Linked DNA regions of Homo sapiens: regions 2, 3 and 4 are each linked to region 1. The links are contacts of gene promoters, found by promoter capture Hi-C in blood cells and fetal thymus (Javierre and others, 2016). All regions are on one chromosome and are shown on one strand. Each heading gives the region's core, a stretch centred on a gene start or on the middle of the fragment in contact. The rest is flanking DNA. Distances are from core to core; before and after follow the strand shown.

The links. Contacts are between HindIII fragments. The CHiCAGO score rates a contact against its expected background, and 5 or more counts as called.
Region 2: a contact is called between a fragment that was not itself captured here and the fragment with the promoter of C10orf55 in region 1, in 1 of 17 cell types (megakaryocytes). The highest score is 5.6, in megakaryocytes.
Region 3: a fragment that was not itself captured here is called in contact with the fragment with the promoter of C10orf55 in region 1 in 2 of 17 cell types (endothelial precursors and megakaryocytes); the score reaches 7.6 in endothelial precursors.
Region 4: a fragment that was not itself captured here is called in contact with the fragment with the promoter of C10orf55 in region 1 in 4 of 17 cell types (endothelial precursors, megakaryocytes, naive CD4 T cells and 1 more); the score reaches 6.1 in endothelial precursors.

Annotation. Positions count from the first base shown.
Region 1 is chr10:73,918,856-73,926,075 of GRCh38, forward strand. C10orf55 (chromosome 10 putative open reading frame 55) reads right to left here and starts at 3,922. Exons shown (of 5, transcript NR_160938.1): 1 at 3,778-3,922. RefSeq lists enhancers at 1,317-1,965, 1,966-2,612. The HindIII fragment of the contact is 3,151 bases long and covers 2,524-5,674 here.
Region 2 is chr10:74,121,754-74,128,973 of GRCh38, forward strand. It overlaps AP3M1 (adaptor related protein complex 3 subunit mu 1), which reads right to left. Exons shown (of 9, transcript NM_012095.6): 7 at 4,395-4,602; 8 at 2,627-2,771; 9 at 1-2,157. The coding sequence ends at 2,057. Among named protein-coding and RNA genes, the nearest start is that of AP3M1, 25 kb to the right of the region's middle. The HindIII fragment of the contact is 2,685 bases long and covers 1,416-4,100 here.
Region 3 is chr10:74,104,679-74,111,898 of GRCh38, forward strand. VCL (vinculin) reads left to right here. Exons shown (of 22, transcript NM_014000.3): 16 at 373-675; 17 at 2,552-2,676; 18 at 4,293-4,478. Among named protein-coding and RNA genes, the nearest start is that of AP3M1, 43 kb to the right of the region's middle. The HindIII fragment of the contact is 1,694 bases long and covers 2,796-4,489 here.
Region 4 is chr10:74,071,584-74,078,803 of GRCh38, forward strand. VCL (vinculin) reads left to right here. Exons shown (of 22, transcript NM_014000.3): 5 at 1,147-1,269; 6 at 3,160-3,320. It overlaps LOC124902458 (a long non-coding RNA gene), which reads right to left and starts at 1,195. Exons shown (of 2, transcript XR_007062200.1): 1 at 1,119-1,195; 2 at 167-481. The HindIII fragment of the contact is 781 bases long and covers 3,212-3,992 here.

The sequences.
Region 1 (7,220 bases), core at 2,672-5,171:
CTGAGGACCTTTTAAAATATGCACACCTACACTCCACCTGTAGAGATTGTGATTCAGGTCAGGGCTGGCTCCAGGTCTCGTGGTTTTAGAAAAGCTCCCTCGGTGTTACTAACATGCACCACTGATTGACAGCCTTTGGGGACAATTGGTCAGAATATATGAAGTGCCCAGAAAAATTCAAGATATGGTCAGCATGAGTTCTCTGCATGAACAGCCAGTTTTCTGAGTGGGGTTTGGTGGCACAAGGTCTCCTGGATTTCCTGGTTAAAGGCTTTCTGGACCGTGCTTCCCTAGAGGGCAAGAACTCCAAGTATTTGGCTTTTTCTTTTTTTTGAGGCAGGGTCTCACTCTGTCACCCAGGCTGGAGTGCAGTGGCGCAATCTTAGCTCACTGCAGCTTCTGCCTCCCAGGTTCAAGCGATTCTCCTGCCTCAGCCTCCCAAGTAGCTGGGATTACAAGCATGCACTACCACTACCCGGCTCATTTTTGTGTTTTTGGTAGAGATGGGGTTTCACCCTGTTGGCCAGGCTGGTCTCGAACTCCCGACCTCAGGTGATCTGCCTCCCTTGGTCTCCCAAAGTACTGGGATTAGTATTCGGCTTTTGATCCCCATCATCTAGTGTGCTGTTTTACACAGGTTGATGCAGTGGTTTAGAGCATGGATTTTCGAGTCCGGTGGCCTGAACTAGAATCTAACACCAGCTGTGTGACTTGAGAAAGGTTATTAGCCTCTCTGCACCTCAGTTTCCTCATCTGTACAAAAGAGATGATACAATCTACCTCCCTGGGTTGTTATAAGGATTCATGAAGGCCAGACACAGTGGCTCAGCCTGTAATCCCAGTGCTTCGGGAGGCCAAGGTGGGCGGATCACCTGAGGCCAGGAATTCGAGACCAGCCTGACCAACAAGGTGAAACCCTGTCTCCACTAAAAAAAAAAAAATACAAAAATTAGCCAGGCGTGGTGGCATATGCCTGTAATCCCAGCTACTCGGGAGTCTGAGGCACGAGAATTGCTTGAAACTGGGAGGTGGAATTTGCAGTGAGCCGAGATCACACCACTGCACTCTATCCTGGGCAACAGAGAGCAAGACTTCGTCTCAACAACAACAACAACAACAGAAAGGATTCATGAGTTCATAAGTCCTTTAGCATAATACTGGCACCTAATAAAAGCATAAAAACGGTGGTTATTATTACAAAGCTAAGTAAATTATTGTAGCATCAGATCAGATGGGAACCCTCTGCCCTCTCCCACCTCAGAACTGCACTATTTTGCGGGAGTGGAAACCTGCTAGGAAGCTGCCCAAGCCGAGTGGCTGTTCAGTTTCTGCCTTCCCCTCAGGGGCCAAGAAAGATCTTGTTCAAACTTGAGCAGCTCCAGCATCAGGGCTCAGAGACACTGAAAACAGGAAGTATGAGCCCTACTGGCAGGGTTAAGCCAGGAGGCTGTTAACAATTTTCAGGCCATTTCCCAGCCAACACCCTGACCCCCAGCCAGCTGCTGTCTCTTTGCCTAATATTAGATCTCACCCCAGGCTAGCAGGCATCAGCCGCTTCTCCAGCAACCAGTTTCACAGTTCCAGATTCTCACTCCAGAGACTGCCTCCTATTAGTGCCTCCACGATCAAGCACTGTGCTTTTTCTGTTTTTGCTTTTGTTTTTTTTTTTTTTGAGATGGAGTATCGCTCTGTCGCCCAGGCTGGAGTGCAGTGGTGTGATCTCGGCTCACTGCAACCTCCGCCTCCCAGGTTCAAGCGATTCTCCTGCCTCAGCCTCCCGAGTAGCTGGGATTACAGGCGCCCACCACCACGCCCGGCTACTTTTTGTATTGTTTTTAGTAGAGATGGGGTTTCACCATGTTGGCCAGGATGGTCTTGATTTCCTGACTTCGTGATCCGCCTGCCTCGGCCTCCCAGAATGTTGGGATTACAGGCGTGAGCCACCGTGCCCGGCCTTTTTTTTTTTTGTTTGAGATGGAGTCTTGCTCTGTCCCCCAGTTTGGAGTGTAGTGGCTCAATCTCAGCTCACTGTGCAACCTTTGCCTCCCGGGTTCAAGCAGTTCTCCTGCCTCAGCCTCCCGAGTAGCTGAGATTACAGGCGCCCGCCACTACGCCTGGCTAATTTTTTGTACTTTCAATAGAGATGGGGTTTCACCATGTTGGCCGGGTTGGTCTCAAACTCCTAACCTCAAGTGATCAACCCGCCTCAGCCTCCCAAAGTGCTGGGATTACAAGCATGAGCCACCATGCCAGACCAACACTGTGCTAAATTATTCATGTGTTGTCTGAGTTAATCCTCCCAAGAATCCTATGAGGAAGGTAGTATCACTAGCCCCATTTAACAGTAGAGAAAATGGAGGCACAGACAGATTGAGTGACTTGCACGAGGCAATGCAGCTCCAAATGCAAAGAGTCAGGGTTCGAACCCAGGCAGCCATCTCCAGAGTCCTCATGCGCGGTACTAGGATTTATCACCTCTCAGGAGAGTCCAACTAGGGCAAAAGGAGAGCAGCCCCCCTTTCAAGCTTTCTACTTTATGGTTGCTGGGTTTCTAGGCAACAGCTATCAGAATTTTTTTTTTTTTTTTGAGACGGAGTCTCACTCTGTTGCCAGGCTGGAGTGCAGTGGCGTAATCCTGGCTCACTGCAACCTCCGCCTCCCGGGTTCAAGTGATCCTCCTGCCTCAGCCTCCTGAGTAGCTGAGATTACAGGCACATGCCACCACGCCCGGCTAATTTTTGTATTTTTAGTAGAGACGGGGTTTCACCATGTTGGCCAGGATGGTCTCGGTCTCTTGACCTTGTGATCCACCCGCTTTGGGCTCCCAAAGTGCTGGGATTACAGTTGTAAGCCACCCGCCCAGCCCAGAATTTTTTTTTTTTTTTCCATACACAGTCTTGCTCTGTCGCCCAGGTTGGAGTGCAGTGGCCCATCTCGGCTCACTGCAACCTCTGCTTCCCAGGTTCAAGCTATTATCCTGCCTCAGCCTCCTGAGTAGCTGGGATTACAGGCGTGCACCACCACACCCGGCTAATTTTTGTATTTTTAGTAGAGACGGGGGTTTCACCATGTTGGCCAGGCTGGTCTCAAACTCCTGACCTCGTGGTTCACCCACCTCGGCCTCCCAAAGTGCTGGGATTACAGGCGTGAGCCACTGCGCCCAGCCTCATCTATCAGAATTTTAATCCTCTCCTAGATAACAATTCTTTCCTCCTAGAAGATTCCCAGGCCAGATGAGGAGACCACACTCAGCCATTGGTTTCAAAGTAAAACTTCACTGTTCTCACAGTAACCTCAGCCTTTCTGCTGCAATCTGGTTTCATTGAAGTGGTTTCCGTTTTCACCAGAACCCCTCTTTCTGAAGTATTCTCAGCCCATTATATTAACAGCACTCAGCCTGCTTTCCACGTATGCCCTATCTTTCCCAAGCTGACCACAGCAGCACCCCTGCCTATACCCCTCCATACTCACTCCCATTGGGTCCACCTTCCTTCCAAGAAGGAAACATTTAAGCCCTCCCTTTGAATTAGATGAAGTAAGAGGAGTTGCTGAGGTGTTTTTTAAAAATCAATTCTGGGCTAGGTGCAATGGCTCACACCTGTAATCCTAATACTGTGGGAGGCCTAGACGGGAGGATTGCTTGAGCCCAGGAGCTCGAGGCTGCAGTGAGCTATGATTGCACTACTGCACTCCAGCCTGGGTGACAGAGCAAGACCCTGTCTCTAAAGAAAAAAAATCAGTTTTATTGAGATATAATTCATATATCATACAACTTACCCATTTATTCTTTCTCTTTTCTAGAGACAGGGTCTTGCTCTGTCACCCAGGCTGATCTCAAACTCCTAGGCCAGAGTGATCCTCCCACCTCAGCCTCCTGAGTGGCTGGAATTACAGGCTCATACCACCACGTCTGGCACCATTTGAAGTGTACAATGCAATGGTTTTTAGTAGATTCACAGAATTGTGAGACATCACAATCAATTTTAGAACACTTCATCACCTCACAAAGAAATCCTGTACCCACTCACAATCACTCCGTTTTTCTCCCCAACCCCCTCAGCCCTAGGCAATCACTAATTTACTACTTTCTGTCCTCTCTGTGGGTTTGCCAATTCTGGGCATTTCATATCAATAGAATCCTATAATATGTGGTTCTTTGTGACTGGCCTCTTTCACTCTTAACATGATGTTTTCAAGTTTTATCCATGGCATAGCATGTGTCAGTGAGGTTGCTGAGTTTTAATAACAAATTGAGGGAAAAGATGGTCTAGGCGAGGTGCAGTGGCTCACATCTGTAAATTCCAGCACTTTGGGATACCAAAGTGGGAGGATCCCTTGAGTTCAGGAGTTCCAGAACAGCCTGGGCAACATAAAGAGGCCCCATCTCAAAAAAAAAAAAAAAAAAAAAAGGATGTTCTAGGTCTCTTTTTGAGGTTTCAGTCACATTGAGATTCATTCAACAATCTTTGTCATTTCTTTCTTTCTTTCTTTTTTTTTTTGAGATGGAATCTCGCTCTGTCGCCCAGGCTGGAGTGCAGTGGCGCAATCTCGGCTTACTGCAATCTCTGCCTCCCAGGTTCAAGCAATTCTCTGCCTCAGCCTCCCGAGTAGCTGGGATTACAGGTGCCTGCCACCATGCCCCACTAATTTTTTTCTATTTTTAGTAGAGACGAGGTTTCACCGTCTTGGCCAGGCCGATCTTAAATTCCTGACCTCATGATCCACCTGCTTCGGCCTCCCAAAGTGCTGGGATTACAGGCATGAGCCACTGCGCCCGGCCCTTTGTCATTTTTTTAAAGTACCCATACACAGGACATTATTTTAGATACAAATGAGGCAGTCCTAGTCCTCAAGGAGCTCACCACTTTGCAAAGTGCTATACTAAGTCTGCATAAAATGCATGGAAAAATAATGAAGAAGCAATTGATTCTGCCTGGTGAAGTCAATGACGACTTTACAGAAGAGGTGATATTTTACCTGGACATTCAAATACACACAGAAATTTGCCAAACTAGAAGAAAGGCATTGTAGGCGTAGGGAAGTTCATGGAGGCATGAAAAGGTGAGGTGTTCTAAGGAAATGAGGAATAGTCCATTGTGGTGGAGAACTCTGGGGGGCAATGAGTAGGTGGAGATGGTGGGGAAGGATCTGGTGGGATCCAGCTGGTGATGACCCTGCTGCAGGACTGATTCTCAGCAGCAGGCACTGGTTCTGCTCAGTGACTAAACAGATGCTGTCCTGAGATCCTCTCCGCGTGGCCCCTGCCATCAGCCTCTCTCCACTTCTTCATGATCCAGCAACCACAGGGTTAATGCCTGTGGCACAGCAAAGGCCTCTGAGATCCTCCCTCCTCCAGCTGGCTCAGGCGAAAGTGTCCTACTGGGGTATCTTGATAGTTAAATATTTTGACTATCACCTCTTGCCCTCAGGCACTATTTTTCAAAATCCAGAAAGTGAATTAAGTTCTAGAAGCCATAAAAAAATTGGCTTTTTAAACTAAACATTTTTATTCAATTGTAAAAGTAGCTACAAATGTAAAATACTTTCATAGCATTCCACAGCCATTGTTAACATCTCTGGCTTCTTGGGTTCCTTTGTAATCTCAACCTCTTTTACTCGGTCTTAAATGTTAGGATTCCTAAAGCCTGATCTTAAACTTCCTATTCCCACCCTAAGCTTTCTCCCTTAGGATCTTGTTAGCACCCAGGCTTAAATGACCACCAATAAACAGATGGCTTACAAAGCTGATCTCTAGCCAGACCTCTCTTCTGCACTCCAGACTCTTATTTTCTGTTGTCTACTTGACACCCCTTTTGGTTGTCACTCACAGGGGACCTCAAAGTCAACCTGCCCCAAACTGGCCGAGTCTTCATGCCCCAGTGTGGAGACATCTCCCATCACTTTCTGTCTCAGATGATAGCACCACATCCATTCAATTATGAAAGCCAGAAACCTGGGGCCATCCTGATGCTTCTCTCCTGGTTTCCTTCATCCCCTCCATCACCAAATCCTGGGGATTTGACTGATATCTCTTGAAGTCGTCCATTTCTCTCCCTCCCCACCATCACCATTAGTTGAGCCCAGTCTACCCTACAATAGCTTCCCAGTTTGGTGCCACTGCACTACAGCCTGGGCGACAAGAGCAAAACTCAGTCTCAGAAAAAAAAAAAAAAAAAGGACCAAAGGACCACTAAAAGAAGAGCACTCTTTTTTTCTTTTTTGAAGCAGGGTCTTGCTCTGTTGCCCAGGCTGGAGTGCAGTGGCACAATCCTAGTTCACTGCAGCCTTGACCTCCTGGGTTTAAATGATCCTCCTGCCTCAGCCTTCCAAGTAACTGGAACCACAGGTATGTGCCACCACACCTGGCTAATTTTTTTTTTTAATTCTTTTGTAGAGACAGGGTCTTACCATGTTGCCCAGGCTGGCTGGTCTCAAACTCCTGGGCTCAAGTGATCCTCCTGCCTTGGCCTTCCAGTGTGCTGAGATTATAGGCATAAGCCACCATGGCTGGCCTAAGAAGGGCATTCTTAGCACAGGTTGGTGAGGATTAGGGGCTAGAAGAGAACCCAAAAGTTTCATTTATTCACTGATTCATCCTTCACTCATTAATATAGCAAACACTTATTGGGAGTCGGCCATGGGCCTGGCATTGTGCTGTGTATTGGGTATAAAGATGAGAGCCCCAGTCTCAACCCCAGTGAGATAAGGGTCAAGTTGGGGAAGAGACACATTGCAAATGAATAGAGTACAGGGTGAGGAAGATTTACAAGATGGGCAGGGATGGCTAAGACAGCAAGGTGGAGGAGGTGACCTTGGGGAGAATCTTGAAGGGCAAATACAGGAGGAAGAAATGCTTCTCTGAGCAGAGGAAACAGCACATGCAAACGTGAAGAGGAGGGAGGAAGCCCAGGGCACCGGAGGGACTGCAGGTGGTTCCAGCCGCTGGGGTAGGGGCTGGCATTGAAGTGATTTGACTGGAGGGATTGGCAAGAGCTGGAACCTACGGGCCTAGAGGACTCTGCCTGACACATGAAGGACTTTGAACTTTCTTGTGATGTGGAATTGTTAAAGATTTTGGAGCAGTGTGAAAAATTGATCAAAGGAAGATTCTTGGGCCTGGGTGAGACTACCAGCAGGGAAAACCAGTTTGGAGACTATTGCAATCAGCGAGGTAGGAGCTGAAAAGTGTCTGAGCCAGGGCTATGGCAATGGGATGTGAG
Region 2 (7,220 bases), core at 1,508-4,007, 200 kb after region 1:
AAAATCAACTTGTTGCTTTCATCTTTTTATTGATAGCACAGCCAGAGCTACCAAAATGATTTACTGGATTCTAGCAAATTAATAAATACAGTAATTTGATTGTAAAAGGAAACATTCTACTTGGACATTTTAGTAGAAATTGCTAGAGGGAAGGAGCTCCTGGCGTACATTCTACTTGGATAGAAGAGAAGATAGCACAGGAGGAGAACTGGACAGTCCAGGTATAGATTGTTGAGATTAGGGATTCAGCAGAAAGCAAAGCAAATGTTCTCATTGTTCTTTTGAGGTACGAACTCTGAAGAGTCAAGACATTAAAAATAAAAAGCAATTGAACCGGGTAGCCAAACTTAGGCAAAAGGAATAAATATTTGGCAACATTTTGACTTTAACTGCCAATCTGAGATTAGTTTCTTCAGAAATTTGGAAGCTGCAAAACGTTGCCTTTCTTATTCCATGAAAGGCAGGGCAGGCAAAGGTAAGAAAACTGCTGAGTGGGCTCCTTGTACCAGCACCAACCAGCAGCCCTTGACAGCATAGATGGGATGAGTGTAAGGGCTATCCTTAGCATAAGGGAAAGACGGTTATAAGCTGAGAAGATTGAAAGAAGAATGGAGCCACAAAGAGAATAGCATAAATAACAAGAAGGAAACATGAAGAACAAGCACTTAAGATATTAACTTTCAGTCTTTCTCCATTTCTTGATGTCTAATGAGGCAAAATAACTGGGCAAGGACCACCAAGATGAAGAAGTTAAATAAAATGTCACAATGAAATTGAGTGCAATAATACAACTGTTGACTGACTTTCCAAAACCACGGTGATCGGTAGAGTATCATCAATGTTACCGAGGATTTTGTTTCTGCCTCATTATAACTCACTTCCATGTATTTTGTCAGTATAGTACGTATATTTAAGCACTCCAGTGACAATTATGACAATAGTTTCTGGAAGAAATCTATGACTATAGCTTTGGGAAGCACACAATATGAAAAGGGAATTTCCCCTAAAGACAAGGAATGCAGACAAATTCAAACCCTTAAGAACAACAACAAAAAAGATTTAAAAAGACTGATGACTGTGAGGCAGGCACATTTTCCTCCTTTTGCTGAACTGGGGCATGAGGCATTTAGGTTAACCATGGCTTAACTGGTGTTGGGTAAGCTTTATATTATAAAACATGAAGATGGCAAAGGTTTCACTTAAGTTTTTCTTTTACTACTTTAATTTGCTTAAAAGCACAAATGCTTGTGCTTGCAGTAACTTCCTAAAAGCAGAAGTAATGTTCCCTTTTACTACCTTAATAAAGCATTTGCCCCTTTGATACAAATGATTTTTTTACTGTGCTAACAGCTGAACCAGTGGCACAAAATTGAGATGGTATTTACTGCAGCAAGGTCCCTGTAAATCAAATTCTAAGCTTTACATAAAAATCTTATTTATAAAAAATACAATACCAAGTACAGTGAGAATGGAGCATGGAGCAGCAGTGCTCCCTGCCAGGGCCATGTGGAAGTGGCTTTTGCTACAGTGCTTGCTTAATGGCACAAGTGAAAAGCTGAATAAGGCAAACACTTGAAGAGGCAGTTTTCTGTAAACTTCTGGGGGTGGGGGGAATTTCCTCTCGGGACAGATACTGGTTTGGGATGGCTAAGATCAGAAGGTGTGATATTTGGCTGCACCTGACACATCACAGATTTAAGATAGCTTCTGCTGGATGAGACCAGTTAACTCTTTTAGGAGAGAGGTTATCACTACAGCTTTCTGCCTTTACTGTTACAATGTGCAGCCGCCAGATGGTATCCTCCTATGGAAAAAAATCACCTCCAAAATCTTCCTAAGTGAAAAGATACAAAATAAGCTAAGTCACTAAAAGGTTTCCTTAGCTTAAAGCTCCTTAAGAATCCTACATTGATAACTAAGTAACTTTGTTAGCGGTGTGTAGCTAGACACAAATGCTTTAACTAGAATATGTATTCCCACTCACTTGGTACCTAATAGTGATACATCGTAATGACACTTGGAAAACAAACTGGTCCTGAGGAATTTTGGCCTCTTCTCATGTCCTCACTTGGAACTTTCCAGCTTTCGTGACGTATTTGACTCCTTTAAATGGCTTATATTTCTCCCCATACATGTCCAAACGGTTTACTTTTAAGCCTGTATCAAAAAGAATGAAAAAGAATAAATTATCATCATCCCAACCAATATAATGTTAGCAATGAGCGCTATATGGTAAATCTGACATTAACCAGTGTCCCTTCCACCATTTGGAAGAAATGTCTCTTCTATCATTTACAAATTATTGCACTTTGATGGTATGGTTTTGGTTAAGATTCCCACACAGGCAGGGAATGTCTGTGAAGTATAATTCTACTTTCTGTGAATATGAATAACTCTCTTTTTGGTGCTTAAATGAGGGCGGAGGTGAGGGGAAGCTGTTTGAAATAAGGTGCTCTGAAAAATCATTTGGTCGGTGCCTGTGAGACTGCCCCACCAAGCACAGTATAAAAGGCAAATGGGCTACTGCTCTTTCTAGAGAAGGAAACTTTTGTTACTCTTCTAAATGCCTAATAAATGAGCTTGCAAAACTCAATTACCCTTAACTACAAGTCAACCTTATCCTTACCTGAAATAGCAAGCTGCTGGATCTTAAACTGTATGTTGAGGCTCGGATTCTCTTCTGGTTTGGGGGCTCCAGACTGTAAATTTACCAGTCCTTTAAGACTTGGGAGCTTTTGTGGAGTAATTTTTCCCACATCCCATGTTAGTACCTTAAAAAGACAAAAAATGAAAAACAAATAGAACCATTTATTAAAGACAAACCCTCAAAAACAAAGTTCAAAGATATCATAAACTTCTGTACAAACTGAAGTGCAGTCTCTTGAAAACAAGAGATCTGGCATCTACAGTGAGTTTACCTCTGATTAATTCTGTGACTTTGAATGGGGAGTGAGAGCAGAGAATCTACATTTGTTGAGCATTTTCTTTTGTATTAGCACCGTGCTTAGCATTATTCATATGTTGTCTCATTGAGGGCTGTGAAGTAGCTTTTGTCTTCTATTTACAAATGAGGAAATTAAAGCTCAGAGGACATTAAGGCTCAGAGATCAAATGACTCGCTCAAGGTCACATAGTTAGTCAGAGGTAAGGCTGGGATTTGAACCTAAGGCCCTCTGATTTCAAATGTTCTCCATCATAACCATCTTCACTTTTCTCTGGGCCTGTTTCTTTTTCTTTTTTTTTTGAGACAGAGTTTCACTCTTGTTGCCTAGGATGGAGTGCAATGGTGCAATCTTGGCTCACCACAAACTCTGCCTCCCAGGTTCAAGCGATGCTCCTGCCTCAGCCTCCCAAGCAGCTGGGATACAGGCATGCGCCACCATGCCCAGCTAATTTTGTAGTTTTAGTAGAGATGGGGTTTCTCCATGTTGGTCAGGCTGGTCTCGAACTCCTGACCTCAGGTGATCCACCCACCTCGGCCTCCCAAAGTGCTGGGATTACAGGCGTAAGCCACTGCGCCCAGCCTCTGTTTATTTTTCTGTAAAATAATTAGATTGACTTAAGATGGTGTTTTTAAAACTTTTAGCTGTGAAACCCATTGTTCAAATGAAATCTTCGGTGTGAAGGCTCAACAGCAGATGAGAAAGAAAGCAAAGCTGTCATAGTTGAAGCTGTGGTAAAGGGCCAGGAATCTGAAGCTCCCTTTCTCAGCCCTGTGTGGTCTCCAGGAGGAGGTTCTTTGAATCCTTACAACTGTATTAAATAATCTTTAACATTCTATGATGTTATTCAAAAAACATGTCTTTTCATTTATCAGGTAGCTCAATGACTCTGCTATTGAAAACAATCATATTTACCAGCTAATCAGGAAGCTGAGAGAAAATCATCTGCTACAGTTTCTCTGAAAACCCTCTGTTACACAAAAATTTAAGTAGAGTGAGGAAGCAACTTTCCTAGCCCTGTGAAAGAGTATGAAATAATGCTTTTAAATTATAAAGGAAGAAAAAGGTCTTAGTGATCAATTTATATAGAAAACTTAGTAATTCATAGACCATCATAATATCTTCTTCAATCTACATAATGTTTTCTCTTTTTAAAAAAGCTTTTACTTCTTTCTTATTAGATAGCAGAGTCAGGCTCTGGATTAATAATGGATGAGTGAAGGCACACTCTGAAAAAGGACAGAATGACACATTTTTCTGTTCATCTACTCAGTAGCAGCTGCAGGATTCCTTCTGCAGCCAGTGGCAGAAGCACAGCACAGTATGCTCTCTAGGTTTTGATACGAACTTTAGTTTTAAACAAGGTGCCAAACCTTTCCCTCCATTCCTCCCCACAAATCACAAAATAGATTGCAGAAACACTTGCTCACTCTTGATTTGAAGTGGCTGTACCTTGGTGACTGGATCAAATGTATAGCTGCCTTGTGTGGGTGTCAGGTTCATGTTCAGCACAACTTTTGGCATGTGAACTGTCACTGTAATTCCTTCAATAGTTTTCCCCATATTCTGCTTTGGTCCAATTGTTATATCAAATCTGCCGCAAGAACTGTTCTCCTTAAAGCTGATACTATGTTTCACATACACTGGTATTGCCACTAGACTAAAAAGAGAAACAGAGAAAGATACAAAAGCACAAACACAATTAATGGTGTGGGGAGAGCTCCAGAGGTATCCTGAAAACCTCTGTCCAGAGTATCCTACCCTGCCTTTAACTCCACAATAAGGTACTACAGAGTTGGCTCTCTGTAGCCACAGTTCTGCATCCTTGAATTTGACCAGCTGAGGATTGAAAATATTATTTCACAAAATTGGCCAGGCGTGGTGGCTCATGCCTGTAATCCCAGCACTTTGGGAGGCCGAGACCAGGGTTGGGAGGGGATCACCTGAGGTCAGGAGTTTGAGACCAGCCTGGCCAACATGATGAAACCTCGTCTCTACAAAAATTAGCTAGGGCTGGGCGCGGTGGCTCACACCTGTAATCTCAGTACTTTGGGAGGCTGAGGTGAGGAGTTCAAGACCAGCCTGGCCAACATGGTGAAACCTCGTCTCTACTAAAAATACAAAAATTAGCTGGGTGTGGTGGCTCATGCCTGTAGTCCCAGCTATTTGGAAGCCTGAGGCAGGAGAATCGCTTGAACCTGGGAAGCGGAGATTGCAGTGAGCTGAGATCGTGCCACTGCACTCCAGCCTGGGCAAAGGAGCGAGACGCCATCTCAAAAAAAAAAAAAAAAAAAAAAAAAAAAAAAGTAAAAAATAACAATATAACTACAATAAAAATAAAAAGTCAACATGGTATAACAATTATTTACACAGTGTTTACAGTGTACTATCACAAGTAACTTGGAGATGATTTAAAGTATACAGGAGGATGTGCATAGGTTATATGCAAATACTACACCATTTTATGTAAGGGACTCGAGCATCTGCTGATTTTTGCAACCAGTCCTCCAAGGATACCAAGATGGCAGTACCTCTAGAACTGCAGATTCAGTATCTACACAAGGGGGAGCTGAGTACAGCATAATGTTCTTGTACCACTGTGCTGGGAACTGTATACAAATCAAGACAGAAATCTGAAGTTTAATAACAGTATAAACAATTGGGGTGGCTGGGTGCAGTGGCTCACACCTGTAATCCCAGCACTTTGGGAGGCCAAGGCAGGCAGATCACTGGAGGTCAGGAGTTTGAGACCAGCCTGGCCAACATGGTGAAATCCCCTCTCTAATAAAAAAAAAAAATAACAAAAAACAAAAATTAGCTGGGCGCGGTGGCAGGTGCCTGTAATCCCAGCTACTTGGGAGGCTGAGGCAGGAGAATCGCTTGAACCCAGGAGGTAGAGGTTGCAGTGAGCCAAGATCACACCATTGCACTCCAGCCTGGGTGACAATAGTGAAACTCCGTCTCAAAACAAACAAACAAAACAAAATAACATAAAACAAACAAACAAAAACAATTGGGGCAAATGGCCCTAGTTTAAAATGAATTATGATCCCACTGAAAAATAATGTAAAATATGTTTTATATAAATGAAAACAGTTCCTATGTGATAAGAGCCAAGAAACAGGCCAGGCACGGTGGCTCACGCCTGTAATCCCAGCACTTTGGGAGGCTGAGGTGGGCAGATCACCTGAGGTCTGGAGTTCGAGACCAGTCTGACCAACATGGAATAACCCCGCCTCTACTAAAAACACAAAATTAGCCGGGTGTGGTGGTGCATGCCTGTAATCCCAGCTACTTGGGAGGCCGAGGCAGGAGAATCACTTGAACCCTGGAGGTGGAGGTTGCAGTAAGCCGAGATTTCACCATTGCACTCCAGCCTGAGCAACAAGAGCCAAACTCCGGCTTAAAAAAAAAAAAAAAAAAAAAAAAGGAAAAGAAAAGAGCCGAGAAATAATTTCTCTGTTTTTGAGTTCTGTCATGATGTTACTCAAATAACTTTTGGTATTTTCAAGAAACAAACTACCTATAACTCCGATCCCCAATGCTAAATTTTTTTTTTTTTTGAGATGGAGTTTTACCCTGTTGGCCAGGCTGTAGTGCAGTGGTGTGATCTGTCACTGCAACCTCTGCCTTCCAGGTTCAAGTGATTCTCATGCCTCAGCCTCCTAAGTAGTTGAGATTATATAGGCACACGCTACCACGCCTGGCTAATTTTGTGTTTTTAGTAGAGACAGGGTTTCACCATGTTGACCAGACTGGTCTAGAACTCTTGACCCCAAGTGATCTGCCCACATTGGCCTCCCAAAGTGTTGGGATTACAGGAGTGAACCACTGCACCCGGCCCCTCAATGCTAAACAGTTCCTTAAAAACTCAACGCAGAGAAGACGTACTTGAAGCAGGTAAATTGGGGAATGTCCTCACGAACTACAGGTAGGTCTGTCTCCTTGTTGGCCACAAACTCTACAGACTATGGTAAGATTATGGCAATGGTTCATGGTTTTGCCCAGGTTATGCATGGTCCGTTTTGCTCTGCTTGCAAAGTACTCAGCTTTCAGAAGCAGAGCAAAATGGACCATGCATAACCTGAGCAAAGAACCAGTGCCATAATTTGACCATGCATAACCTTGCAAAGGACCGGTACCACAATTTTTGCCCAGGTTATGTATGGTTTGCTTGTTCTTGGCTATAGATTTTACTCTAGTCTCACTTAGTACCACTCTACACTCATACATTCAAAGTATACGGATTATTTTAGGTGCGTATTTTCACCCGTTCTC
Region 3 (7,220 bases), core at 2,393-4,892, 190 kb after region 1:
CTGGGGAGTGAGAGGGACAGGGAGAAAATATTATTCACAGATAACGTGGTGGTGATGCAGTGATGGTTTCAGACATATTCCTTGTTTCCTCCCGATGTTGCATTTCTGGTTGTCTGGGGTGGATACAAGAAGGCTGGCAACCACGGTTGGTATAAATGCTGCAAATCCAGATGGGCTTTTGGGCTATGTCCTCACTGTTTTTTTTAACTGTGGTGTTTACCTGGAAGCTTTTGATTATGTAGGAAGAGTTTGAGCTGAAGAAGAGAATTCTGGATGTTATACTTTCTCATGAGAAGTTTGAGTGGATAACAGTGTTTTGGAGTTTCTGTTCTTCTAAATTGAAACTAAATTCCATTTCTGTTTTCCTAACAGGGCTGGTGGACGAAGCCATTGATACCAAATCTCTGTTGGATGCTTCAGAAGAAGCAATTAAAAAAGACCTGGACAAGTGCAAGGTAGCTATGGCCAACATTCAGCCTCAGATGCTGGTTGCTGGGGCAACCAGTATTGCTCGTCGGGCCAACCGGATCCTGCTGGTGGCTAAGAGGGAGGTGGAGAATTCCGAGGATCCCAAGTTCCGTGAGGCTGTGAAAGCTGCCTCTGATGAATTGAGCAAAACCATCTCCCCGATGGTGATGGATGCAAAAGCTGTGGCTGGAAACATTTCCGACCCTGGTAAGCAATGCATGGCACTATGTCTCACCTCCACTGAGAGGTTAACTCAGGAAAGGTCGTGAGGGAATATGTACCCCACAACCACCACATACAAAGTCTGGGGGCAAAAACTATAGACACTTAGTTTGAGAATGCTAGATTAATCTTTTTCCATCCAAGTCTCTGCAGTTATCAGCAGGCTTGTTGTATGTTAGTTTTTCTGGACCAACTTCTCTGTGCTTTCTTTTTTTTTTGAGACTCTCACCCAGGCCAGAGGGCAGTGGCATGATCTCAGCTCACTGAAACCTCCACCTTCTGGGTTCTAGCGATTCTCCTACCTCAGCCTCCCGAGTAGCTGGGATTACAGGTGTGTGCCACCATGCCTGGCTAATTTTTATGTTTTTAGTAGACAGGGTTTTGCCATGTTGGCCAGGCTGGTCTTGAATTCCTGACCTCAGGTGATCCACCCGCCTTGGCCTGTCAAAGTGCTGGGATTACAGGTGTGAGCCACCGTGCCCAACCTCTGCGCTTTTTTAGTGCTGGGATTACAGGTGTGAGCCACCGTGCCCAACCTCTGCGCTTTTTTTTTTTTTTTTTTTTTTGAGACGGAGTTTTGCTCTTGTTGCCCAGGCTGGAGTACAATGGCACAATCTTGGCTCACTGCAACCTCCGCCCCCGCCTGGATTCAAGTGATTCTCCTGCCCCAGCCTCCTGAGTAGCTGGGATTACAGGCTCCCACCACCACACCCAGCTAATTTTTTGTAGTTTTAGTAGAGGCAGAGTTTCACCATGTTGGCCAGGCTGGTCTCAAACTCCAGACCTCAGTTGATCCACCCGCCTTGGCCTCCCAAAGTGCTGGGATTACAGGCATCCAGCCTGTGCTTTCTTAATATGGTCTGGCTAAATAGCTCCTCGCCTTGTTCAGTCATTATTTTGGAAAATTTTCAAAAGATGCATGATAACCAATTTACCATCCATTTAGTTTATGTAACTGGTGTTAACTTCTCTTGGGCTTTTCTTAAAATGCTTTTTTTTCTTTGTAAAGCATTCTCAGTTTCTATCAAATCTGGAGGGCTTAAGTTGATCTGTGGGTCTCCTAGGCCCTACACCTAAAGAAAATCTGGGTTTTCTTTAGGTGAATTTTGATCATATTTTTGGTACTACCATGGCAGATCATAATTGGAGCCGCTCCTTTGGTTGAAATCATCTGAATTCCTTCCTGTTTTGAACATCTGATGTTTTCAGTCTTGTCTATGAGTAGAATGCAGTCAATGCAAGAGAGTAGGAAGGAGGGGCTCCCCTATTCATCTCTGGTTCAGGCAGAATCTTTCTAATATCCAAAACCCATTATCACTAAGGACATGCTTGGTTTCCTAATTGGAGTTTCTAATAGTAGAGTAGATTCCTGAATTCCAGGCAACTGAACAGAGTAGCGCAGCTCAGCATAAGGGTTAACATACTGAATGCCAAGGACAGCAAAGGAGTAGAGAGAAAGGTGAGAAGTACTTCAGGGAATGTATGTCCAATCTGAAACTGACATCTCCCATGTTCTGAGTTGGGCAGGCTTATCTCTTGACTGCCTCATCATAAGAGAGGTGATGGATGCCACCTGAGCCCAAAGTGTTCATGCCCAGGGATCTCCTGGGTACTTTTTAGTTGTACAGCCAAGAAGGCACCCTGAACACTAAAAGAACAGCTGGTTTGTGATGCTTCCAATGCTCTGCAGGCCTCAGGGCATCTGCCTTGTCCTGCCTCCCCCCTTCTTCAATCACTGCCCGTGATATTTACTGGCAGCTTCACATCCAGCTTTTGTTCATGGAACCAGTTCTGCTGCTGCACAGACAGTGCTTTGGGGCACTGACCCACCCAGCTGAAAGTGAGGATGTCTTGTGTTTAGGACTGCAAAAGAGCTTCCTGGACTCAGGATATCGGATCCTGGGAGCTGTGGCCAAGGTCAGAGAAGCCTTCCAACCTCAGGAGCCTGACTTCCCGCCGCCTCCACCAGACCTTGAACAACTCCGAGTAAGTAAATTCAGATATGCAGAGAATTGAGCAGGAAGGTGTTGAGACTTCAGCAAGAGAGAGGTAGATTGTGTTTTAGAGCCTCCATCACTAGGTGGCTTCGTTTAGCTTTCATTTGAAGCTTAGTGGGAGGCAGATCTCGATTTTCATTCCTAAATCCAGTGGAGTTATAACCTAGTGCTTATATGCATGGGTTGTGTGTGTGTGTGTAGTACTGGTGTGTGTGGTAGTGGCTTGCTGTGATGGGGAGCGGCTGGAGCAGAGGAGCTGGCTTTGGTAAGTGTGGATGTGATGAGTGATGAGGTAGTGCATTGTGGTAAAATAATCTGCACAGCTTGGAGTAAGGAGATTTGGTGTGTTCTTAGTTGATAATGGTAGAACCGAGGTGGTTGAAATCTTGTGTTGGTTCTTTCCTTTATTTGACTTTTTTTTAAGTAACAAGATACATGCTTTTAAAAAATTTTTCCCTAACTATAATTTAAGATCTTTAGATACCTTCCCCACTACCCCCCGCAAGTACTGTGAATATATTTTTACATGGTGTAGGAAGAAGCTAGCTAGGCAGTATGTTGCAGACACAAATTCCAGAAACAGAAATAGTGATTATTTCTAGACACTTATTCCAACTAACAGTATTAGAAATACCTTGACTTTGTAAATAACTTATCAAGGCAATAATCTGATTTACTTTCCCATATTTAATGTCAGTAAAAGATGTTAAGTTTTTAAGTTGGTTGAGTACAAAATTGTGTCATCGCACACACAGCTAAGGAACAGTGTTTCCCAGCCTTCAACGCATCTTAGATTCTTCCCAGCTGGGTGCTTGGTGGGTGTTTAGAGCTGGGAGAGAGGGCTATTCCTGGGAATGGCTTCTTATGTGAGCAACAGAGTTATGTCATTTAGAATCTGGATCTTAGAGGTCATTTGGTCTAGCTACCCCTCAGTGACAGATGAGGAACCTCAGGCCAAGGGGAGAAGTTACTTGCCTATGTAGCTGCTTTCTGGTAGAACCAGGACCACAACTTACATCTTCTGTAGGGACTTTTTGAGAATCCTTCATCTGGTAGCACTGTGTATACTTCCCTGGGATGCAACCAAAACAGTAGCTGCAAGCCTTTTTTTTTTTTCTTTTTTTCTTGTTTTGAGATGGAGTCTTGCTCTGTCGCCCAGGCTGGAGCGCAGTGGCATGATCTCAGCTCACGGCAACCTCTGCCTCCCGGGTTCAAGCAATTCTCCTGCCTCAGCTTCTTGAGTAGTTGGGATTATAGGCACATGCCACCATGCCCGGCTAATTTTTGTGTTTTTAGTAGAGATGGGGTTTCACCATTTTGGGCAGGCTGGTCTCGAACTCCTGACCTCAGGTGACCCACCTGCCTTGGCCTCCCAAAGTGCTGGGATTATAGGCGTGAGCCACTGCGCCCGGCCACTGCTAGCTTTTTGTAGAGAAACCTGCTTCTGTTGAGATTGAAGCAGGTGGTCCTTGTGGCTCAGTGTGGGTGGTCTTATGTGGAGTCAATATGGGTGGGTTTTCTAGGGATGCTTTTTAGAAGAAAGGAAAGAATTCCAGGGGGGAGTAGTTTTAGGACTTTACTTACAACTTGTTTTCTCTTTTTTAGCTAACAGATGAGCTTGCTCCTCCCAAACCACCTCTGCCTGAAGGTGAGGTCCCTCCACCTAGGCCTCCACCACCAGAGGAAAAGGATGAAGAGTTCCCTGAGCAGAAGGCCGGGGAGGTGATTAACCAGCCAATGATGATGGCTGCCAGACAGCTCCATGATGAAGCTCGCAAATGGTCCAGCAAGGTAAGTAGTGAAGCTTTTCTTGTTGAGAAAGGATGTCTTCTCGGAAAGGATGAAGGACCATGAAAGACCCAGAAAGAAGAGTCTATTTGGAGTCACCCTCTCTCTCTCCTTTGGTTCCTGTGTTGCCAATAGCATATTCCTCTTCTTACCTGTGCTTTAGTGAGATGTTTCTGACACCTGATGGTTTCTCCTTCAAGCTTGCAAAAGCCAGAGTCAGGGTGCCTGTGATTTGAGAAGAGGATTCCTGTCCTTTGTCCATTAGAGTGCCAGGTGCCTTGACCTTAGCATTTGGGGTCTTTTAGAAATTGCTTATCTTTCTTGGAACTGCAAATGTTTTTAGATGCTACATTGCTAATGATCAGAGCTCCAAATATGAATTGTGTGGGCTGTGCTAAAGCTAGATGAAATGTTTGCATTTTCTTTTTTTTTCCACAGAAGCAAGTAGATTGGTATCTTAGAAGCCATGTGCTTTTGTCCTTTCTCAGAATCATTTCACCTGTCAACTCAAGACAGCTCCAGGCTGTCTCTTACTCAGCAAATCTGAAGGTGTAAATATTAATGTGGTTGGTAAAAATATGGATGCTACAGCAGTCTTGCCCTATGAATAACTTTTGCCTATTTTCCCCTAAATGATGAAAAGTGAGCAGTAGCTTTTCTAGATAAGAGGAATATTATTGCTAACCCTGCAGTGAAAGGTAGCTCTTAGTTCTAAACTGTTTCTAATATGACCCTAGATCTTTTTTTTAATGTTTTTATGACCCTAGATCTTTATTCCCACCACCTATTTGCCTTTATTCTTTACACATCCTCAAAGCTTTCAAGCTCTTGTGTCGATTGTATTTCCTCAGGGACCTCCTGCACCTGCAGCTGATCTTGGATTTTTTTCAGGCTGGGAAATTCACATTGGTTTTTAACTCTGTATTTTGCTGAACTGTTAGCTGTGAGCCCAGGTTCTAAGAAGGAAGGGAGACTTTGCTGGTGTTGGACCTGACCTGTAGAATTATTTATAATGGTATCTCTCCAACTGCATGTGGCAGAGCCCCACTGTGCATGGGGAGTGGGGGAGGGTGACAGTGAAGATTTTAAAGGAAATTTAAATTTCATTACAATGAACCAAAATACACTATGCAGAACAAAAAATATACATGAATTATTTAAAAAAACAAACAAACTTAAAAGCAGACAGCATTGGCCCACATTACTTGCCCCACTCTGCCATTTGTGGCCAGAAGTCCTGAGGTCTATCTCCTGAAGTGTGCAAGATCAGGAGTTTGCTGACTTTGAGTTGTGTGAAGTCAGAAGCTACTTGAACCATGTGTGTACTGGGCTGGGGAGGAATATCTGTTCGTGTGTCTGTCAACCTATCTGTCTTTGTACACTGTGGGACTCTGAGCCTTAGCAGCAGTGAGCTGGCTTTTCTTCTGAGCAGCAGAGATGGGTCTTGGTTGAGTTTAGGCAAAAGAGTTTAGATGGTATCTGAACCCCTTGTTGGCCCTGAATCCTCCAACATCGTCACCCTTTGGAGTCAGGTTTCATGTGCAGGTTAAGACTTTTAGGAGTGGTAACAACCTCAAAGAAAATTCCATATAAACTACTTCCTCTTGAGTACAGATGTTTGATGTAAAGAACCTGTATTCATCATTCTTTGTATAAATGGTTTGGCTTCATTGTGGCAGTTTTTAATTTTCTTTCCATGTTAGTCTATTTTCAGCATCTGGCTTTTATAATCTCCATCCCTGGTTCTAAATTCATGTTCTCTCCATCATGATTCTCATTCTTAAATGAGCACCATTCTTCTGAGCTTCTGTGAGCTCAGCTGCAGTCACTTGCCAAGTTCACATATTATTCTATCTGTGAACTAGATAAGCAGAGTTTGGGGTGAGTGAGAACCTATTTTGCAAGCAATTTAGGTTGTACCCAAGGAGAAGCTTTCTGAGGTGGTACTAGCAATGGATGCAAAAAGAGATGGTAGAAGCTTTGCCTCAGAAGACCTTGAGGGGATAGAGAGCTGGTCTGATGTGTGGGTGTTCCCTGAGATGGGCGGCTGACGAGGTGGCTTCTTGAGGCTCCTTACAGCTGGGTGACAGTGGGGTACTTAAGTTCTCTTCAGTCACCATTGTGTTTGTTTTTCCTGCCTCTTTCCTAGTTTGGTATTCGTTACCTCTGATGTATCATTTTTAATTCTGGGACTTTTAACTCATGAAGGAAATAATCTATGTCTGGCAGCTGCAGAGCTGACCCAAATTGCCTCCTGTGTCCCAGGAAAATGTAGAACAGTGACCATATGATCCAGCAGTGTTCACTTTGTTCTGTACAAAGTAACTTGTGTGGCTGCATTTACTTTTTCTCTCCGGATTCCTTTTAAAGGTAATTTGCTACTATCGTTTGGTTGTTTGGCTCCTCAGAAATATTCTCATGTGAGAATCACTCTTGTCAAGTTTGACTTTAGTATCAAGTATATTAAAGAAATGGATGCCACTTGCTTTCTTGGTGTAAAGATTTCTCTAGAAGCCCTTTGCCATTGGAGTGAGTCCCTTTTCTTCTCTCACCACACAGTGGCTTGGGCTGAGTGGCGCTGGAGGCTGAGAATTCCCCCTTCTGTGAAGCTTGGTACACAAGGCTCCTAGAGAACATGTTTCTTTCTCATCCTAGGCAGGCTTTGGTTACTAAACCAGCTGAAGCCCAGTTTCCCAAGTCGTATTGCTCTTACTAACACTATCCCTATTTCTCATCCTTCCCGCC
Region 4 (7,220 bases), core at 2,352-4,851, 150 kb after region 1:
TCTGAGCATTAAATATTCAAAATATATAAACGGATACCAGCTTTTGATGTTACAGACATATAACATGAACTTGAGGGTCTTTAAAGTATGAATGAGACCAATGACAAGATATGTTAGATGTTTAACCTGCTTAACTTGATTGTTATCACTTTATAAAATTCATTTGTTTTATGTGAAATGTTGATTTTTAATTAACAGCATTTTTATGAGGTTCCAGTGTAGGTGTTCTGTAAAACTTAATGGCAGTTAAGAATTTGAGCCATCACTGAAGATCACCTGGAAATAGGTTTCTCTGGTGGCTTTAGAGTAGTCCTCTTAAAATTTCTCATAATACTGGCGAAAATTATATTTCCCCAAATGGAATCTTATGCAGAATCCCCAAACAAAAAAAGACAAAATGGAGCTACTTTAGGTGAAGCAGGAGCAGCCCCACCTCTGCTTCTCTTTGGTCTTGATGGTCTGTGAGACAACTTGAGAAATCCTAGGAGTAATTTGAAAATCAAAGCTTTAGAGAATCACATAGCGCCTTTGAATAACAACCAACATAAACAAAAAGTGCTAGCAGAGTGATTCCAAAACACCAGATGCTTTCAAACACTGTCATCCCTATAATTATTTTTATAATATTTCTATTTGTTTCTAATTATAAAACTAGTACATGCTTATTTTGGACAAATTGGAAAGTACAGACAAATAGAAATATGAAAACAAAACATATCATTGTTATTCTTAGAACTTTTTTCAGCCACTAGATTCAGTACTAGGCTCATGTGAGATTTTTAGCACAGAGTTCAGAGACATGGCATGAAACCTGTATGCATAGAAGCCTGGCAAAATGTTTTTCCCTTACCTGTGAATTTCTTTTTAATAAATATATATTTATTCATTTAGATGTTTAATATTTGTGAATATATTTATATCAAAATATGAAAATGTTTATCACATTTAGTGTTTACATTTAATACATTACTTTCATTGAAAAGAGTAATGTTGCATAAATTAGAGTTCAGTGATGGTGTCTGTTGTTTAAATAAGTGAGCAATCGGTTTGAACTTTCATAGTATTTCATAATGGATTTAGACTGAGAAAGCCAGACCCGGGATTGTTTCACTACTCACCCTGCACAATTTCTTCTTTGTGCCCCAGGAATGACTAAGATGGCCAAGATGATTGACGAGAGACAGCAGGAGCTCACTCACCAGGAGCACCGAGTGATGTTGGTGAACTCGATGAACACCGTGAAAGAGTTGCTGCCAGTTCTCATTTCAGGTACTTCCTGCCTGTACTTTATTTTATAGGGGGGAAAAATGTTAGCATGTTCTAAACTCTGAGGTTCATTTTGTTTTCTTTTGTTTTCTTTTCTTTTTTTTTTTTTTGAGATGAAGTCTCACTCTGTTGCCAGGCTGGAGTGCAGTGGTGCGATCTCGGCTCACTGCAACCTCTGCCTCCTGGGTTCAAGCGATTCTCCTGCCTCAGCCTTCTGAGTAGCAGGCACTACAGGTGCGCACTGCCATGCCCAGCTAATTTTTGTATTTTCAGTAGAGACGGGGTTTCACCATGTGGGCCAGGATGGTCTTGATCTCTTGACCTCGTGATCTGCCTGCCTCAGCCTCCCAGAGTGCTGGGATTACATGCGTGAGCCATGGCTCCTGGCCTGAGGTTCATTTTCTTTTGTGGCTTCACTGCATGTCCTTCAGCCTAGGTAAAAATGAGACCCGATTGATTGGTTATCACATGATGGCTGTAGCTGATTGGCTGAGAACCAGTCTTCTTCTCTAATGCTGTCCTTCTCCTGTTCTTTGTTTGAAATTGCCTTTCTGTGGCCTAATTCTGTTCTCCTAAAGCTCTAACAAGCCCCTTTGCTGGGAGGTGGACTCTCCTCTATAAACTCTAGCCTAGGATATTAAATTTTCACACCTTTGTGTTATAGAAAAATAATTAGGAGCTGGAATGGATATTATAGAGCATCATATGATAAAGACATGAACTCAGAGCCCTTTTTAGTGTGTATTAATCCAATTTTTCCTAAAAGATATTTAACTGTTGTTTACATCATGAGTAGATCAGTTCTTTAGTCACCAGCTGGGACTACCTTCCCATTGAGTAGTGCTCTGAAATGCAAACATGGTAGCTGCTCTCTCGACTAGCAAAAGGGAGTAGCACTTATTGAGTGTCTAGTATATGCCAGACAGCTCATGGTTTATATGAATTATCTTAGTCAAGTTGTGGGTTAATTAGTTATTTCTCAGAAGGCAACTTTATTATAAAAATCTGGTGACTCATGTCATTGTGACTTCCAGCTACCTGCTTTGGTGTTTCAAGTAGTAGCTAAAAAAGGACATATGAGTATAAGAGTTCAGGAGGCTGGGCACAGTGGCTCACTCCTGTAATCCCAGCACTTTGGGAGGCCGAGGTGGGTGGATCACCTGAGGTCAGGAGTTCGAGACCAGCCTGGCCAACATGGCAAAACCCCGTCTCTACTAAAAACAAAACAAAACAAAAATTAGCCAGGATTGGTGGCAGACGGCTATAATCCCAGCTACTCAGGAGGTTGAGGCAGGAGAATTGCTCAAACCCAGGAGGCGGAGGTTGCAGTGAGCCGAGATCACGCCGAAAGTGTTGGGATTACAGGCGTGAGCCACCATGCCCAGACATTATTTTTTTCTTCTTTATGTTTGGGGGTTGGCAAATCCAAGCTACATGTTGAGAGAAATCTCGGATGATAAACTTGACATCTTGGGATCTTCTGCTGGGATCAGGGGCAGCAGGATACGCCATTCAGAGTATTACTGACAGTTTTCATATTGTCCCATTAGGTTTGTAGTAGATGGAGCCAGGGTGAGGGCCAGGATGATAACTGATTTAGAAGGATATTAGATATTTTGTGATTGCAGGTCATCAGCATATGCAGGTTAAATTAGTTACTTAATCATGTTGTGATGGTGTCTTTGTACCTTGAGTTTTCTTTTTCTTTTTTTATTTTTACAATAAAGGTTGTTAATGTTGGAACTTTATTGTCAAACTTGTAGTGTTTGTTTTGTATACTCATTTTAGGATCTTAAAAGCCCAAAACATCTAAAGTGTAGAACATCTTTTGTGAATATTGTTATACAACAAGATTAAATTCCAAGCTTACTTTCTGATCTTTTATTTTTACAGCTATGAAGATTTTTGTAACAACTAAAAACTCAAAAAACCAAGGCATAGAGGAAGCTTTAAAAAATCGCAATTTTACTGTAGAAAAAATGAGTGCTGAAATTAATGAGATAATTCGTGTGTTACAACTCACCTCTTGGGATGAAGATGCCTGGGCCAGCAAGGTACGTGTTCTTAGTGGAGAAATAAGCAAAATCCCCAACTCTCCCTGGCTGGGGGTTTTGATTGGCACCTGTCTCATACTTTATCTTGTAATTTTTGTAGCATAAGAGTACTCAGATATTGTGAAAGTAATTTCTTCTTCATTTCTGTTTCATAGGTTACTTGCTATCTTTGCTAATTTCCTTTGTTCTAAGGTAGAACAAGTAAATAGGCATGTGGGGTAGATACTGGTTTAAGGCTGAGATTTATAGCTTTTCCATCAGGCTGGAGTCTTATTGGTTGGACTGGTGGAAGAGTATATTCCCGTGGATGGGAGCTCTGCCTTGTATATGGGTGGTTCTTCCCAGCTGACTAAGTAAGATACAGATATGCCTGTAATTCTGAACTTTATGGAAAACTTTTCTTTAACCAATCTTTGATCCAGAGAAATCTACAGAGGAAACTCTTGGCATTTCTAGATGTGTCCCTTGATCATTCCATTTTCCCCAAGGAAGGTTTAATTAAAATATTAGTCTTCACATTGGTCAGTTAGTTTGAGGGATCCCTTCACCCTTTTTCTGGAATCTCTTTTAGGACCCCAGAGGGGCTGGCAGATTCCTTCTAGAGCCTGTTAGCAGTGGTTTTGTGTTGCTGCTGCTCTGGTCTGCTGCTCCCTGTTTAATGACTGTGAACCAAGCTTTCAGGTCTGGGGGAACAGAGATACTTGGGTTCATACTTTCCTTGTAGGAGCCCAAGATGTAGGCAGTGGGGGGAACACACTGTCCCCAAGATCTAGCTTTCCCATGTGTGACCCCAATGTCTCCAGGGCCAGCCAGAAGGCTGGTAGTCAACTAAAGAAGGGATTTTGTTGTATGACTTCCATTGGGTGCTCAGTAGAACGGTATGTTCTCCGGGATCTGTAAGGTAATGTAAAAGCTGGGGCCTGAAATCACCAGCCCTCTCTCTTGTTGCCCTGAAAGCTAATTTAATTATATAGAGTAAGTTAGCTTATTTTAACTATGGATTTATTTACAGAGACATTTTCTCATTGATGTGAAGTTCTTGAATAGATTCTAAGACTGTATTTTAAATCTATATGGTAAAATCTTTTTAACTCTGATATTTTATTTAATTTTGCTTTTGCATAGTTGACAACTTTCACTTCCCTGTTATGACTTCTTTATGCATCTTTTTTTGTTCTTTTGTTTTATTCTTTTTCTCACGTTTAGAAGGTAAGCTTTCTCTTGCCCTCTAGTTTCTTTTTCGCTTAAAAAGAGAAAAGCATGTCTGTGAGGTTTTTTTGTGCTGTGTGCCGTGCCTTATTCTGTGTATAACACTGTGCTTGAATGTGCGTCAGAATGTGATTTAATACGGGACTCTAGGCAGTGCTGGGGAGACTGACTGTGGCTCATATTGAGTGATTTCTTTGGGAAAAGCTAAAGGAAAGACATTACTGTGGGCTATCAGGCTGCCTATATTTGGTGGGTGCCTTCAGTTCTTTGGGTAGGCTCCTGGGATCTTTTTTGGCCTGGTCTTTCCCATTGACTTCATTTGAGGAGCAGGATTCCCCAGGTAGCTGGGAGACCCCTGAGTTACCTGTGGACCCTGCTGTTGGGAAAGGAGACTTCCAGCTGATGCTATCTCTGTACCTGCCTCTCCCACCAGTCTTCTTTGCGGGCTCTGAAATTTTGCTTTTGGAGATGCATCATTGAGGTTTTAAGCCATAATGAAAGAGGGTAGGCTAGAGAGCTTAGATGAGGCACCTGTCCTTCATAATAATCCTAGCCTTCAAAATCCAAAGGAAAACAGAAGTGAAGTGTGTCTAAAGGTCTTCCTAACTTCATTCTGTGGCTCACTGCATGTTTTGCTGTCCAAACTGAATTAGCTGTAGTTCTCCATGACCTCATGTTCCCCTAACCCAAGCTCTTCGCTTATTCTCTTTCTTTTGCTTCTAGCAGATGACAAAAAGTAATAAGGAGGAACAGGCATTTTAACCTTAATGTTTCTCTATTTTCAGAAGGGAAAAGCTATCCATCATTTAGTGAATAAATGTTATTGAACTTTATTTTGTGCAAGTGCCATCAAGAGCTGCTTCTCTCATTAAAAAAATGTAGTCAGTTGAGTTTTCAGGGCTAGGATTAGGCACTTGGGGATACAAGTGAAATAGACCTGGTACTCACCGTGTACAGTCTTGTAGCTGCTCCCAGTTTTATGCTGAGGAAAACCAATTTGTTAGGATGCTACAAAACTAACTTCATCTGAAATGAAAGAAGGTAAATTAAATTAGCTCAACTCAAGTACACGATGACATCAGAATGAACAAGAGATGTTTATGTTTTAATCTACTGACCATAAGAATGAAAAAGAGATGCTTATTTTTTAACCTAATGACATCAGAATAAAAAAAGAGGTTTATTTTTAACCTAATTTTGCTTTTGTTTTACATTTATGTGGTTCAAATATCAAAGTGCTGCAAAAAGATATACCTGATAAGTCTTCCTCCTAACCTGGTTCCCATCCACTCTACCGCTCCTCACCCTCTAAGAGTAATCATTTCTATTGGTTATCAAAATAGAAAAAAATTTTACCCTGAAAATAGAAATTGGTAGCTAGGATTTTGGCTCTTTTTCAGTTTTGTAGCATTACGCATCTTTCATTGCTCCACTGTAAGCAGTGAATTAATCAGACCTTTTGTCTGACTGTGACTGCTGGGTTCCCATTCTGTTTAATGCATACAGTGTCTTTCACCTCTTCTCGCCCCTACCAATAAATAATTAACTTTGTCTTACCATACTTGTTTCATGCCTCCCCATTGGTGCAGTATTCTTCTGGAAAGTGATGATTCCTCTAGAAAAGTGGGGGAAGAAAGTAAGTGGAAAAAATTCTTGGTAAAAGTGCGTCTTGCCGAATAAGTTAAGATTTTAAAGAGGCAATGCAATAACTGATTATTTTACCTTTTATACCTATATTCAAATTGCACATTTACAAATTTAAAAGTAACTTTGACTTTAAACACTTCACTTATTTTAAAAGTAAAAAGTTTCCTTTTCTTAAATCAACAATCATTTTATAGTGATCATTAAAAATTAGGTTAGCATTTTTTTCTGAAAATACATTATTTATTAAAAGAATTTGAGTTAAACACAATTCTAATTCTACCCTTTGTAAATTTAGTGCTCTACATTTAATTTTTTTGGTATTTATATTACTTGTATCTTGATGCATGCTGAGAATTAAGAGGAAGTGAGATAAAAAATTAAAAAAAAATTTCACTGCTAAGACTTTGAACCCTACATAGGCACTCCTGCAGCTTTGCACCGTGAATCATTAAATTCTATTATTCAGAATTAGTTCCTGTGGTGGGTCTCTCCCCACTGTGGTCCTGGGCTGGTGGTGGGTAAAAGTAGTAAGTGACTCAGATGCCTTATACAGAAGATTAGCAAACTTAACTAAGGCAGGAAATGTTGGTTAGAACTTGTGAGTGTGTAATACTACCCCCTTACTTGCAGACCACTGGGATTTAAGAGTTGATTTGTTAAATTAAAAAAAGGTCATTTGTGGGCTTTCTATGAGCAAGTGTTCTAGTGTTTTGTTTTTAGCAGCTAATAGAATGAAAGATCTCTAAGAGCTTGAGAGAAATAGTTAATTCAGGCATTTATGATATTTTATCTCCCTGCTCCCCATGAGGAGAAAATCCCAAAATAAATTGATGTTTCCCTTCTGATCTAAGTTATCTTTGGCTAGTACATCTGATCATGCACTCATAGGTAGCATAGATTTTTAGAGCCAGGAAGGTATTCTTAGAGATGAGGAATTGAGACCCAGAGAAGGTAACTTGCATGAAGTCTCAGGACTAGACAACTTTCTCTTGTTTAAATGTAGTTTGTAAGATTTTGTTCTACTGCCCAATCTATACTTTCCAG